Linked DNA regions of Homo sapiens: regions 1, 2 and 3 are each linked to region 4. The links are contacts of gene promoters, found by promoter capture Hi-C in blood cells and fetal thymus (Javierre and others, 2016). All regions are on one chromosome and are shown on one strand. The core of a region is centred on a gene start or on the middle of the fragment in contact, and the rest is flanking DNA. Distances in the headings are between cores, read along the strand shown.

Region 1 (2,842 bases), core at 278-2,777, 78 kb after region 4:
GTTCTGATTCATAAGGAATTTGAAAGAAAATACATTGTAGAATTAATATTAGTTAACCAAACAAAATTTATTAAAGGATATGTTGGTGAAGGAGTTGAATTATTTGAGGAAAAAACATCTGCTCTCTTGTCAGGACTTTTCTGTCTCCAGGAGCTTCTCAACTTTGCAGATACTCTAGAATGGTATTGCATGCAAAATAATGACCGCCAAGATGTTCCTGCCCTAATCCCCAGAACCTATGAATATGTTATATTGCAAAGAAATTAAGGTTCAAACAGAATTAAGGTTGCCAATCAGCTAAACTTAAAATAGGGAGACTCTCCTAGATAATCTGGGTGGGTCTATTTCAATCAGTGGAAAGGCCATAAAAGCAGAGTTGAGTCTTCCGTGAGATGAAAATAAATTTTGTTTAAGGACAGCAGCTTCAGCTTATGCCCCAGAATTCCAGCCTGCCCCTCCTAACTGCCTGCTGTACAGATTTTGGACTTGTCCAGCCACGTTTCAAAACTGAGTAAGTCACTTCCTTGCAATAAATTGATTACTACACATCTGCTGCCTGTTTCTCTGGCTGAACTCCAACTAACACAGATTTTGATACCTGGAAGTGGGGTGCTACTGTAATAAACACTTAAAATGTGCAGATGGCTTCTGAATTGGACAGTGGGCAGAGGCTGGAAGAACTTTGACAGGCATGACAGAAAAAGCCTCGCTTGCTTTGGACAGAGTGTTAGCAGAAATATGGTGTTAACAAATCTGCTAGTAAGGACTCAGAATGAAGTGAGGAGCATGTTGGAGAAACATGTTGCCTTAGAGAATACCACATCACTTTAAATAGATTGTGAGTAGAAATATGGATGTTAAAGTCTCTGCTGGTGAGGGTGCAGAAATGAGGAAAATATTATTGGAAACTGAAGAAAAGGGAATCCTTTTATATGGTGGAAGAAAAATTAGCTGAATTGTGTCCTGTAGTTATGTAGAAAGAATTTTTAAGCAATGAACTTGGGAGATTTCACTGAGATTTTCAGGCAAAGGGTTAAATGTACAGCCTGTTTTTTTCTTGCTGCTTATAGTAAAATGTGAGAGGGAAAAGAATGAGAGGAATTAGATTGAGAGAAGAACTGTGAAGCAAAAAGGAACCCAGACTTGATGGTTGGGGAAATTCTCACCCTATTCAGACTGCAACAGATGTTAAGATCAGGAGATTCACTGCTAAGGATGCATGTTTTGGAGAGAAAGCCACAGACATATCAGGACAACCTTTTACTAGTGCGTTGAAAGAATCAGGTAGTCAATCATACAGAAGGCTCTTTGAAGAGACTAGGTACATGACATGGATATCTTCAGCCACATCAGCAGAAGCCAGGAATATAGACATAATTACTCAGGAAATAACTTCGAAGGAGTCTCTTGTTTAATAAATTGAATCCCTGTGAAATGCACAGGAAATAAGGTTATTGAGAATGTTTAATCAGCAGAAACACTGCCAGCTTGAATTGAAAGGGATAGAGAGAACTAATTAAAGGAGGATGTGGTACCCCCCTCCCCAAACTCTGTAAGCTAGAAATAGACTGATAAAACTGCTTAGCTAAAAACATGTGCCAATTCCAATGAAAAAGGAAGGATGCATCAGAGGATGGAGCCTGAAGTCCAGAGAGTACAGCTCTCAAAACACAGAGGATTAGTCCCAAGCCTTGAAAGCAGGAGTTTCCCTGGATGTATTGCCACATTCATTGGTGCAGGTGATTTTTTTTTTTTTACTTTTACTTTTTTACACAGTTGCCAGACTAGGTTCCAAGTTGTCTACTTAAAATGTATGAGGCATTTGTCAGAGAAGTAATGAGGTAGGAGATCAGCAGGACTTATTCCCCTATCAGAACAGGACAAAATGAAGAAATTGACAGGAACCAGCAGGTGGTGCACAACTGAAGTGAAAAACCCTGCAGGAAGTAGCAGCTGGTGTTGAAGGCAACCTCTAATTGCCCTTACTGCTCATTAGCATAAGAGATTCCCACCAGCCCCATGACAATTTACAAATGTCATGGCAACCCAGAAGTTACTGCCCTTTTCCATGGCAACAACCTGGAAGTTACTGTCCCTTTTTCTAGAAAGTTCTGAATAACCAGCTCCTCAATTTGCATTAACTCACCTCTTAATTTGCATGTAAGTGAAAATAGGTATAAGTGAGTATAAATACAGTTGCCAACAACCCATAAGCTGCTACTGCCAACTCTGGGTGCACTGCAAAATAGTTAGTCCTGCTCAGCAAGGAGCAGTCCCTTTTAATAAAAGATTGCTGTCTAATAACACCTGATTGCCCTTGAATTCTTTTATGTGTAAAGCCAAAAGGCCTCCTGGGATAAGCCCTAATTTGGGGCCTTGCCTGTCTTGAATCAGTCATATTGTTTTCCCTGGGGTGTTATCAAGGGACAGTACTCTGAACTACTGCAATTAAATTTATGCCATCATTCAATCATCTCACAACTGGCAAACATATGCAAATAACTGAATTTTCAAGAAATATTCCTGGCTAGTAGCATCTTCAAAAGCTGACTTTGGAGAACAGAATCAGAAAGTGAACGGATAAATGCGAGGCACGCTTTTACATCTGGACTTAACGGTATCCTGAGCAAGATGACTAAGATGTTTATGCAGCAATCCAGAATACCCTGCCCCCATCACAGGCAATAAGTAGCAAGGCTAAAAATTTTACTTAGTAAAATTGACTAAATATGGATCCTGAAAATATTCATAAGCAGATCAGCAGTCCATGTGTTTTTGTGGATTATGGCTATTTGAAGGATAAGTTCCAATTCTCCTCTATGTCATGCATAGCACCTAGAAC
Region 2 (3,025 bases), core at 156-2,655, 100 kb after region 4:
GTATCACATTACATTAACACCTTGAAAAAGGCTCAGAGCAAGAGATGACATTGTCTCTTAGTTCAATTATACCAGGTGTCTTACAGGGTGAAGCCAAGACCACTGCTGCTTTTAGAACCTGATAAGATCAATGAAAATCCTGCAAACTTGAGTGGCCTCACCCTGGGATACAAATTCATACAATATGATAATGGACTGAACTAATTATTAATAATTGAATAAGATTCTAGTAATGTGGCAGTGTCTTTTGAGTTGTACGTCTTTTTAAGTAAGGAATTACACATCGGAGGTAGACTGTGATATCATGAATTATGTATTTGGCCCTTGACCTCATTTCCTGGCATACAACTATTAAAATCCTTAGAAACTCCAGAGTGATGTCTTTGTATCCTAATGAGATGACTGGTGGCTGGAAGCCCCTGGGCAGCTTCAGAATTGGGGGCTGGTCACAGAAAAGACTAAGACAGGGTTAAAGGGTTAGGACTTTCCCACCCTGCAACCTCCAGGAAGAGGAGAGGTGCTGAAGGTTAAGTTGATCACCAATGATCAATGGTTTAATCAATCATGCCTATGTAGTGAAGCCTCTGTTAAAACTCCCAAAGGACAGGGTTTGGGGAGCTTTTGAATAGCTGCAAACCTGGCAAACTAGGAGGTTCCTGGAAGGTGGTGTGCCTTGGTAGGGTATTGAAGCTCTGCTCCCCTCCTCTCCTATACCTTGCCCTATGCATCGCTTCTGTATCCTTTGGAACATCCTTTATAACAAACCAGTAAACATAAGTAAATGTTTCCCTGAGCTCTGTGGGGAAAAACAAAGGCTTTTTTCCCCATTTTATTTTGTTTGGTTTTTTTGAGACAGAGACACCCAGGCTGGAGTGCAGTGGTGTGACCATGGCTCACTGCAGCCTCAACCTCCAGGGCTCAAGTGATCCTCCCACCTCAGCCTCCTGAGTAGCTAGAATCACAGGTGCGTGCCACCATGCCTGACTAATTTTTTGGGTTTTTTTTGTAGAGATGGGGGTCTCACTATATTACCCAGGCTGGCCTTCTACTCCTGGGCTCAAGTGATCCTCCTGCCTCGGCCTCCCAAAATGCTGGGATTGCAGGTGTAAGCCTCTGCACTCAGCCTAAAAAATGTTTTTAATGGACATGGAGATGTACCACCCCATCCATCTTCAAGGAGGTCCTTTTGCCTAAGTGCTAGGAGTGTTATCAGTAGACAGAGTTCAGCTGTCAGAATCCTCAGGGATGTCCTCAGTTACACACATCTGCCTCATCTAAGGTCATGCCCTTCCTGGGGCATCCTGCATTTAATGGCAGATCAAGACAAAGGTATGAAGTTCCAGCCATGTTGGCTCAATGTGGAACAACTCTAAAGGTTCATTTTGGCTTCTAAGCTCCTGGTGGGGTTAGCAAGGCTATAGTAGGAACTGCATCATAGTTGGACTTTTCCCTCTGCCTACTTCCTTCCCCTTTTCTTCAACTGGTGGTAATCCCAAGGGTACACCCTAATAAACATCTTTTTCAATAAACTCCATCTCGTAGCCTGCTTCCCAGGGAATTATGTAACTATTGGTAATGGGAGTTGTCTTAGAAAGCAGGCAATAAGATGGGGGTTTCAAGCTGAATCATTTCTCAGCTGGCAAATAAGGGCCCTATAACTAGTAGTAGGTGGAACACAGCTCCTGCCACAAGGTGGCAGTCCAGTTGTTAAAATTTTCACTGGTGGTGAACTGGGATAGTGAATTCCGCTAGTGGAAGAGAATGCATTAACTGTTTCGATCTACAGGGCATTTGAGAAACAGTCAGCAAAAAGTAGCCATATGGACAATGGGAATGTGTGTCTATGGCCAAATTCAATTGACTTGAGAGTAATTAACAGAAATTGAAAGCCAGACATAAAAGCCAGCATGATTCCTAGGTGGAGTAAAAAGAGGCTTCTATTTCCTACAGAAGGAGGGCAGAGAAAGCTGAGGACAAGGCCAGGATATATAACTGTCAGATTAGCTAAGTTCCTGATAAGGTTAACTCCTAGACAAGTCTACTGTGCCAGACTGAGGGCTCCATTTGGGAAAAGATGGTATCCTGAGTCATAAGATGAGAATATAGGGATCAATATCCCCTGCATCTTTAATTTCAAGATTTTCCTTGACCCTGTGAGCCTGCAGAAGTGGTCCACTCCTCCTTATTAAAAGATAGCCCTTTCCTCAAAGATATGCAGAGGCTTCTTCCCTATAAGACAATATATATTACCCTCAAAATCTGCCTCTACCTCCCCTTTCGGCCACTAAACTCACGTAGAGTTAGCTCACAGCATAACCCTGTAGATATGCTAAGCCTAATGAGGGAGTAAAAGAGCTCTACCCTAAAAGAGCTACAAGTCCTAGATAGCATATACCAGCAGGAGCCAGGGGAATGCTCCTGGTACTGGATTCTGAGGTTGCTCAATTAAGGCAGTTGGAGCATAAGATTAGATAAGAGTTTATTGATTTGGGAGACATAGGAATTAACACTCTGACAAGCATTTATATGGAATAAACACTATTAGTATGACTTCTAGAAGCATCAAAAAGTGATGGCACACACTAAGTTAAATCAAAATAACCAGAATTCTCATGGCAGACAGTAGAGGAAGAGATTAGAAAGCCTAGGAAAATTTACATTCTTAAGTTTGGGGTCTTAGAGAAACAGAACCTACGATAGGGGGAAGTGTGTAGAGGGGGTGGCTGTGCGATTTATTATGAAAATCAGCTCACACAACTATGGAGACTGAGAAGTCTCACTACCTGCTGACTGCAAACTTCAGGGCCAGGGAAGTCAGTGACATAAGTCCCAGAGTCCCAGGGCCCAAGAACTAGTAGCCCCATTATCCAAAGGTGGGAGAAGATGGATGTCCCAGCTAAAAAAGAGAAGGAGAGAATTCGCTCCCCCTTAGCCTGTTTGTCTTATGCAGGGCTTCAAGAGATTGGATGATGCCTGCCCGCACTGGTGAAGATGGATCTTGTTTACTCGGTCTACTGATTCAGAT
Region 3 (3,169 bases), core at 478-2,977, 120 kb after region 4:
CAGTAGGTCTAATACTGTGATCCTTAGAAAGCTCTTCTTGTAAGGTTGGCTTTTGGCTGGCATCTGGGAACTGGGACTTTGAGAGTGTTCTCACCATCCCTTCTTACTGACTTTTTGGAATCCTGAATTCACATATCTTAATTGCCTGGACCTGACTCTAAGCTAAAATCTGACTATCTTCTGATGGACCATTTCAGTCTCAGAATGAGCTGTGCTAAACTGAAAGCAGGCATAGTCTCAATAAACAGAACATAGATTCTGCAACTGTTGCAGATTTAAGATACCTCTTTGTGGGGCCTTAATGAAAACGTCATAAATACTGGCTGGACCATCTATGGTGGTCAGATGCCCATGGGAAAGGGGTTATTCTCTGATGGAGCCATCTAAAATTGAGGTGCTGATTGGCTCTATATTTCTGATACAGAGAGATATACAGAGACTGGTTGCATTCCTAATTGCACTTTAGGACTGGGCACATCACAGTGACTGTAACCCCTCTCCCCATTCCTGACAGATCAGACTCTGGACCTCCTCTGGAGAAAGTCCCACTGCTGTAGATTTGTGTTTAGATTTCTGGATTGGTTGCAACTTGCAACAATTGACTTACAGCCTGAATCTACTTCCTTCACCTTTTTACTGGAATATTAAGACAATTTGATTGTTAAATGCAGCTGTCCCCAAAAAGGAACTGCTCTTCTCTGGGATGGTAGGCTGGCCACTGGATAAATGATTGTGACTAAAGGGATAAGAGTCTGTGTAAACTTAATTTGAAAAATCTTAGAAAATTCAGGTCATTGTGACCAATTCCTTACCATGATGTGTCTTTCTGCTTAAGTTGTGTAAAAATGTTTTTCTGTGAAAATGCTTTTTTCCCTCTTGCTTATAACCCTTCTGGATGAAAGGCCCTAGTGAGTAGGAGATGATTGAAAATATAAAGTTATAATTGTGAATGGGACACACTGATTTTGTAACAATGGAGAAACCACACCCAGCCCCTGGGAGGCACAGGGAGAGGTTAGGGTGTTAATGATTTTTGTTTTTCAGAACTGCTCCTGGAAGCTTTACCCCCTTCTTGAAGGAGAAGTCCCCATGCTGGCTTTCCAAGCTGCTGCGAGCACTCTGAATTCAAACAGATTGCTGAGCCCATGGTCACAGGTGACTATGAGACGGCAGAGGAACACTTCCAGATGTCACCCACACTTATGAGATGGATGAAGTGATATTATGCATGAACAAAACTGTTTGGAACTGACTGCCTCAGGCAGTCGTTATGAATCTAAGGACTGACCTGTGTTATTTGGACTGCACTGAGAATCCTGGAGCAGGAGGGCCCACAGTGGAAGGTTACATTAGAGGTCTTCTTAACCTTATTGCCTGACTACTGTATGTCCTGCTTGGGGTGTCCTAACAACTGTAAACTCATTGTTTCCAGGGGTACTGTGTGTGCCCTCTGGGCTTATATTTCTTTTGTGGGTACCCTGACTATCATGACACTGTCTCAGCCCTACAAGGCATTCGGATTAACTTTAACTTACTGGTCAGAGATGTGCTGTGCCTGAGTTGATGCCTTGGGCCAGATTAAAAGAAAAAAAAAGGTTAATATAAAAACTAAAGGAGAAAGACACCTGGCTTTCTAAGATAGACCTTTATGGTTAATGGGATTTTTTGTTTTGTTTTGTTTTTTGAGACAGAGTTTCACTCTTGTTGCCCAGGCTGGAGTGCAATGGCACAATCTTGGCTCACTGCAACCTCTGCCTCCTGGGTTCAAGCAATTCTCCTGCCTCAGCCTCCCGAGTAGCCGGGATTACAGGCATGTGCCACCACACCCGGCTAATTTTTTGTATTTAGTAGAGACGGGGTTTCACCATGTTGGTCAGGCTAGTCTTGAACTCCTGACCTCAGGTGATCCACTCACCTTGGCCTCCCAAAGTGCTGGGATTACAGGCGTGAACCACTGTGCCTGTTCCCAGGATTTGTTTTAATTGGCCAAATCTAGAAGCCATGGAGGACATAACTGAGGCCAATAATGTAGGCTGATCTCACCCTGCCATGTGGGATCCTATTGATAATAATCTTTTTGTAAAAAATGCCTTGGACAATGACCAAGTGGGTAGAAGAAAAGAGTTAATATAACAGACCTGAGACTACTAAGCCGTCGAAGGCCCTGCTTACAAGGTAGGCCCTTGGCTTGCATTTGGGACTTGGATTCTGAGATTGTCTGCATCATTTCATAACTGATAAAAGTGGTTTGCTGTGCCTAAACTGTATATACAAACAACGTGGCTTATGCTGAACACCTGCTTTCCTTCGGGGAATCTGGGATTTTGCTACCTACTAGGCAGAAGAGGCCCACATGACCAGTCCCCAATAAAAACCCTGGATTCCTAGGTTTAGGCAAGCTTGCCTGGTAGATAACACTTTACACCTGTTGGTGCAATTTGATGCTGGAGGATTTAATCATATTCTGTGTGACTCCAATGGGAGAGGATTCTTGGAAGTTTATACCTAGTTTCCTCCAGACTTTATCTGATATACCTTTTCCCCTAGCTGAGTTTGCCTTGTATCCCTTTACTGTAACAAATCATAGCCACGAGTATGACTACATGCTGAGTTTTGTGAGTCTTAGAAAATTACCAAACCTGGGGTCTTGGGACCCTCTGACGCCAAACCTTTGTATTTATTCTCTGACAAATAAGAGAGTAAGACACATTATAGTGGAAACCCTGAAATGTCCCTTTCCCTAGCCAAGATAGTAAATCATAAGTAATGCTGCATCCTAGGAGGATTTTTAGAGATTAACACTACCTCCTGAGGCTTAAAGTGCACAGAGGTGATAGTCCTCATCAAATTCTCATTTAATTCATTTGTTCACCCTCTGCAAAAACTAGATAGATTGTTGTGATGACAATGGACTGCAATATACTTACTTAACCAAATGGTAGCTCCAATTGCAGCTGTCATGCCAGATGTGGTATCTTTATTGGAGTAGATCAGTATAACTTTGGCAACTTGGTAGGTGGCTATTTTTCTGGTGAACGCACTTGTCTTAAATTCCACCAGGGAATAAAATCAAAAGCAGTCATCTTCTCATGATAAGAAAACAGAACACATTCAACTATCTTATTACAAAGCTATGTTAACTCTCTTGCTTTCTTTCATAATGTACTCC
Region 4 (3,253 bases), core at 152-2,651:
AAAGTAGAGCTCTTGCAAGTCTCACCAAGAATAAAAAGGAGTTAAAATGCTAAACATCACTAATAAAAATAGGGATACAATTAAAGGTAAATAACGCAATGAAAACAATTCCAAGAAATTTGCAAACTAGATAAAATGATTTTCAAAATAAAATGCAAGTTACTTAAAAATACAAAACCTGAACAGATTAATAACCAAAGGTAAAATGTAAATGGTAGTCACTGATCTACTGCAAGTGAAGTCACCAAACCCAACCAGTTTAAAAGACAAGCTGGAATTAAGCATGTAGAAACATATAATAATATAATTATTAAAACTATTGTATAAAATAGATAAAAAGCTCCCTAACACATTCTATGATGCCAGTATAATAGTTTAATACCAAGGCCATAAAAGGCAAACACGCACTAGGTAAACAACATTAACTAGAAAAATCCTAAAACCATGTTGACACATCATATCTATCTGTGCACTAAAACAATAATACATTATGGTTAAATGTCATTTATATCAATAACTCAGTAATTTAGAAACTAAAGAATAAATGTATTATTTCAACAGCTATCAAAAATCACTTCAAAATATGAAAGAATAAAAAGAAAACTTTATTGATTCAAAAAAGGAATATTTACCCCAAATTGAGATCAACCATCATAGTTGAAGATGAAATGCTAGAAGCACTTCCACAAATGCAAGATTGACCAACTTGCTACTACTAATTTTAAGAGTATTCATTGGACATTGGAGATTCTAGTCACTGAAATTATAGAGGAACAATAATTTCTTATGTAATACTTAAATCAGGTGAAGGATGAAGGTTGGGTTTGGGGGAGGCATAAAGTGTTCCAAGAAATATCACAGGTAAAGAGTTAAGACCTGGAAAGTGGAATAATTGTTTAATTCACAAGAAATTGGGAAAAGGGTCAATTATTCTGCCATATTCACATTATTATTGTTAAATACTTTACAAATAAATAAAATGTCCCCAACCAATATTTGTTGACTTCAAGGAGGAGGTTTCATTTTCTCATATATATTTTTACTATCCATTTTTAAAATAGGAGATTTTCTTAGGATTTCGGTGGGGAGTCAGAGTTTAGTTTCATGCTCCTAGATTTAAGAAGACTATAAATTAATTCTTCTACGAATCCAGATTATCACAGGGGAAAACGACATCAGCTATTACTTACTAGCATTACTGTGACCATTTGAGGATAAAGATGGAATGAAACAGCAAAGATACCGGGGACAAATCATTCTTGTTGCAGAATTCCTTCAATCCGCCATCTTTTTGTTCTAGTCTTGATAACGGGAATAACATCCACAAAACGCAAGGTGGCGCTGCTGGCTAAAAAGAGAGAGAGAAAAATAATTTCACAAAGAAAGGATGTTACAGATTCCAGAGCAAAGAGGCAATCTGAAGAGAAAAGCATAGGAAAGGAAACAGTGGTAATAGGAATTGGGGTAAAATGAGGATCCTTCCCCACAAACATTGCTATTATTCAGCTCATTTCAAAGGATTCCGCTGCTGCCATTTGTGAGAGCCGCTGGAGGCTGAGTGAAAGTCATTTTGAAAGACTGATCCAAAGAAGAATGGAGGCCAGAGTGGAGCGTGCTGTGCAGAAAAGGCAAGTCTTATTTCTTTGTGTATTTCTGGGAATGTCTTGGGCTGGCGCCGAACCGCTTCGGTATTTTGTGGCGGAGGAAACCGAGAGAGGCACCTTTCTTACCAACTTGGCAAAAGACCTAGGGTTAGGGGTAGGGGAACTGAGAGCCCGGGGAACTAGAATTGTTTCAGACCAGAACATGCAAATTTTACTGCTCAGTTCGCTTACTGGTGATCTACTTCTAAATGAGAAATTGGACCGAGAGGAACTGTGTGGCCCCAGAGAGCCCTGTGTGCTGCCTTTCCAGTTGTTATTGGAAAAACCTTTTCAGATTTTCCGTGCTGAACTATGGGTCAGAGACATCAATGATCACGCTCCAGTATTTCTAGACAGAGAGATTTCCTTGAAAATATTAGAAAGTACCACTCCAGGGGCGGCATTTCTCCTAGAGAGTGCACAGGATTCAGATGTTGGAACCAACAGCCTGAGTAACTACACCATCAGCCCCAATGCCTATTTCCATATTAATGTCCATGATAGCGGGGAGGGGAATATCTATCCCGAATTGGTGCTGAATCAAGTGCTGGATCGGGAAGAGATACCAGAGTTCAGTTTAACCCTCACCGCTTTAGACGGCGGCTCTCCTCCAAGATCAGGGACCGCCCTCGTGCGCATTCTGGTTCTAGACGTAAATGACAACGCCCCTGATTTTGTGCGGTCGCTCTACAAGGTGCAGGTGCCCGAAAATAGCCCCGTTGGTTCCATGGTTGTCTCCGTGTCAGCCAGAGATTTAGATACCGGAAGTAATGGGGAAATAGCCTATGCATTTTCTTACGCCACTGAAAGAATTCTCAAAACGTTTCAAATCAATCCAACATCTGGCAGTCTTCATCTTAAAGCGCAATTGGACTATGAGGCAATTCAAACTTACACATTAACTATTCAGGCCAAAGACGGCGGCGGGCTTTCTGGAAAATGCACTGTAGTGGTTGATGTAACAGATATAAACGATAATCGACCCGAGCTGCTCCTGTCTTCACTTACTAGCCCAATTGCAGAAAACTCACCCGAGACAGTCGTGGCTGTTTTTAGGATTAGAGACAGAGATTCCGGGAACAATGGAAAGACAGTGTGCTCCATCCAGGACGATGTCCCCTTCATCCTGAAGCCATCTGTCGAAAACTTCTATACTCTGGTAACAGAGAAACCTTTGGATCGAGAGAGGAACACTGAGTACAACATCACCATCACCGTCACCGACTTGGGGACACCCAGGCTGAAAACCGAGCACAACATAACCGTGCTGGTCTCCGACGTCAATGACAACGCTCCCGCCTTCACCCAAACCTCCTACACCCTGTTTGTCCGTGAGAACAACAGCCCCGCCCTGCCCATCGGCAGTGTCAGCGCCACAGACAGAGACTCGGGCACCAACGCCCAGGTCATCTACTCCCTGCTGCCGTCCCAGGACCCGCACCTGCCCCTCGCCTCCCTGGTCTCCATCAACGCGGACAACGGCCACCTGTTTGCCCTCAGGTCCCTGGACTACGAGGCCCTGCAGGCGTTCGAGTTCCGCGTGGGCGCCACAGACCGCGGCTCCCCCGCGCTGAGCAGCGAGGCGCTGGTGCGCGTGCTGGTGCTGGACG

What was found. The method cuts DNA at HindIII sites, captures the fragments that hold promoters and counts their contacts. A CHiCAGO score of 5 or more calls a contact.
Region 1: a fragment that was not itself captured here is called in contact with the fragment with the promoter of PCDHB7 in region 4 in 4 of 17 cell types (M0 macrophages, M2 macrophages, M1 macrophages and 1 more); the score reaches 7.7 in M0 macrophages.
Region 2: a fragment that was not itself captured here is called in contact with the fragment with the promoter of PCDHB7 in region 4 in 2 of 17 cell types (M0 macrophages and M1 macrophages); the score reaches 5.0 in M0 macrophages.
Region 3: a fragment that was not itself captured here is called in contact with the fragment with the promoter of PCDHB7 in region 4 in 2 of 17 cell types (M1 macrophages and M0 macrophages); the score reaches 7.9 in M1 macrophages.

The regions. Positions count from the first base shown.
Region 1 is chr5:141,248,818-141,251,659 of GRCh38, forward strand. It overlaps PCDHB15 (protocadherin beta 15), which reads left to right. Exons shown (of 1, transcript NM_018935.4): 1 at 1-548. It also overlaps PCDHB@. Among named protein-coding and RNA genes, the nearest start is that of PCDHB15, 4.8 kb to the left of the region's middle. The HindIII fragment of the contact is 3,908 bases long and covers 1-2,842 here.
Region 2 is chr5:141,271,411-141,274,435 of GRCh38, forward strand. No RefSeq gene overlaps it. Among named protein-coding and RNA genes, the nearest start is that of PCDHB15, 28 kb to the left of the region's middle. The HindIII fragment of the contact is 9,791 bases long and covers 1-3,025 here.
Region 3 is chr5:141,287,429-141,290,597 of GRCh38, forward strand. No RefSeq gene overlaps it. Among named protein-coding and RNA genes, the nearest start is that of SLC25A2, 15 kb to the right of the region's middle. The HindIII fragment of the contact is 1,340 bases long and covers 1,058-2,397 here.
Region 4 is chr5:141,171,243-141,174,495 of GRCh38, forward strand. PCDHB7 (protocadherin beta 7) reads left to right here and starts at 1,402. Exons shown (of 1, transcript NM_018940.4): 1 at 1,402-3,253. The coding sequence starts at 1,594. It also overlaps PCDHB@. The HindIII fragment of the contact is 10,030 bases long and covers 1-3,253 here.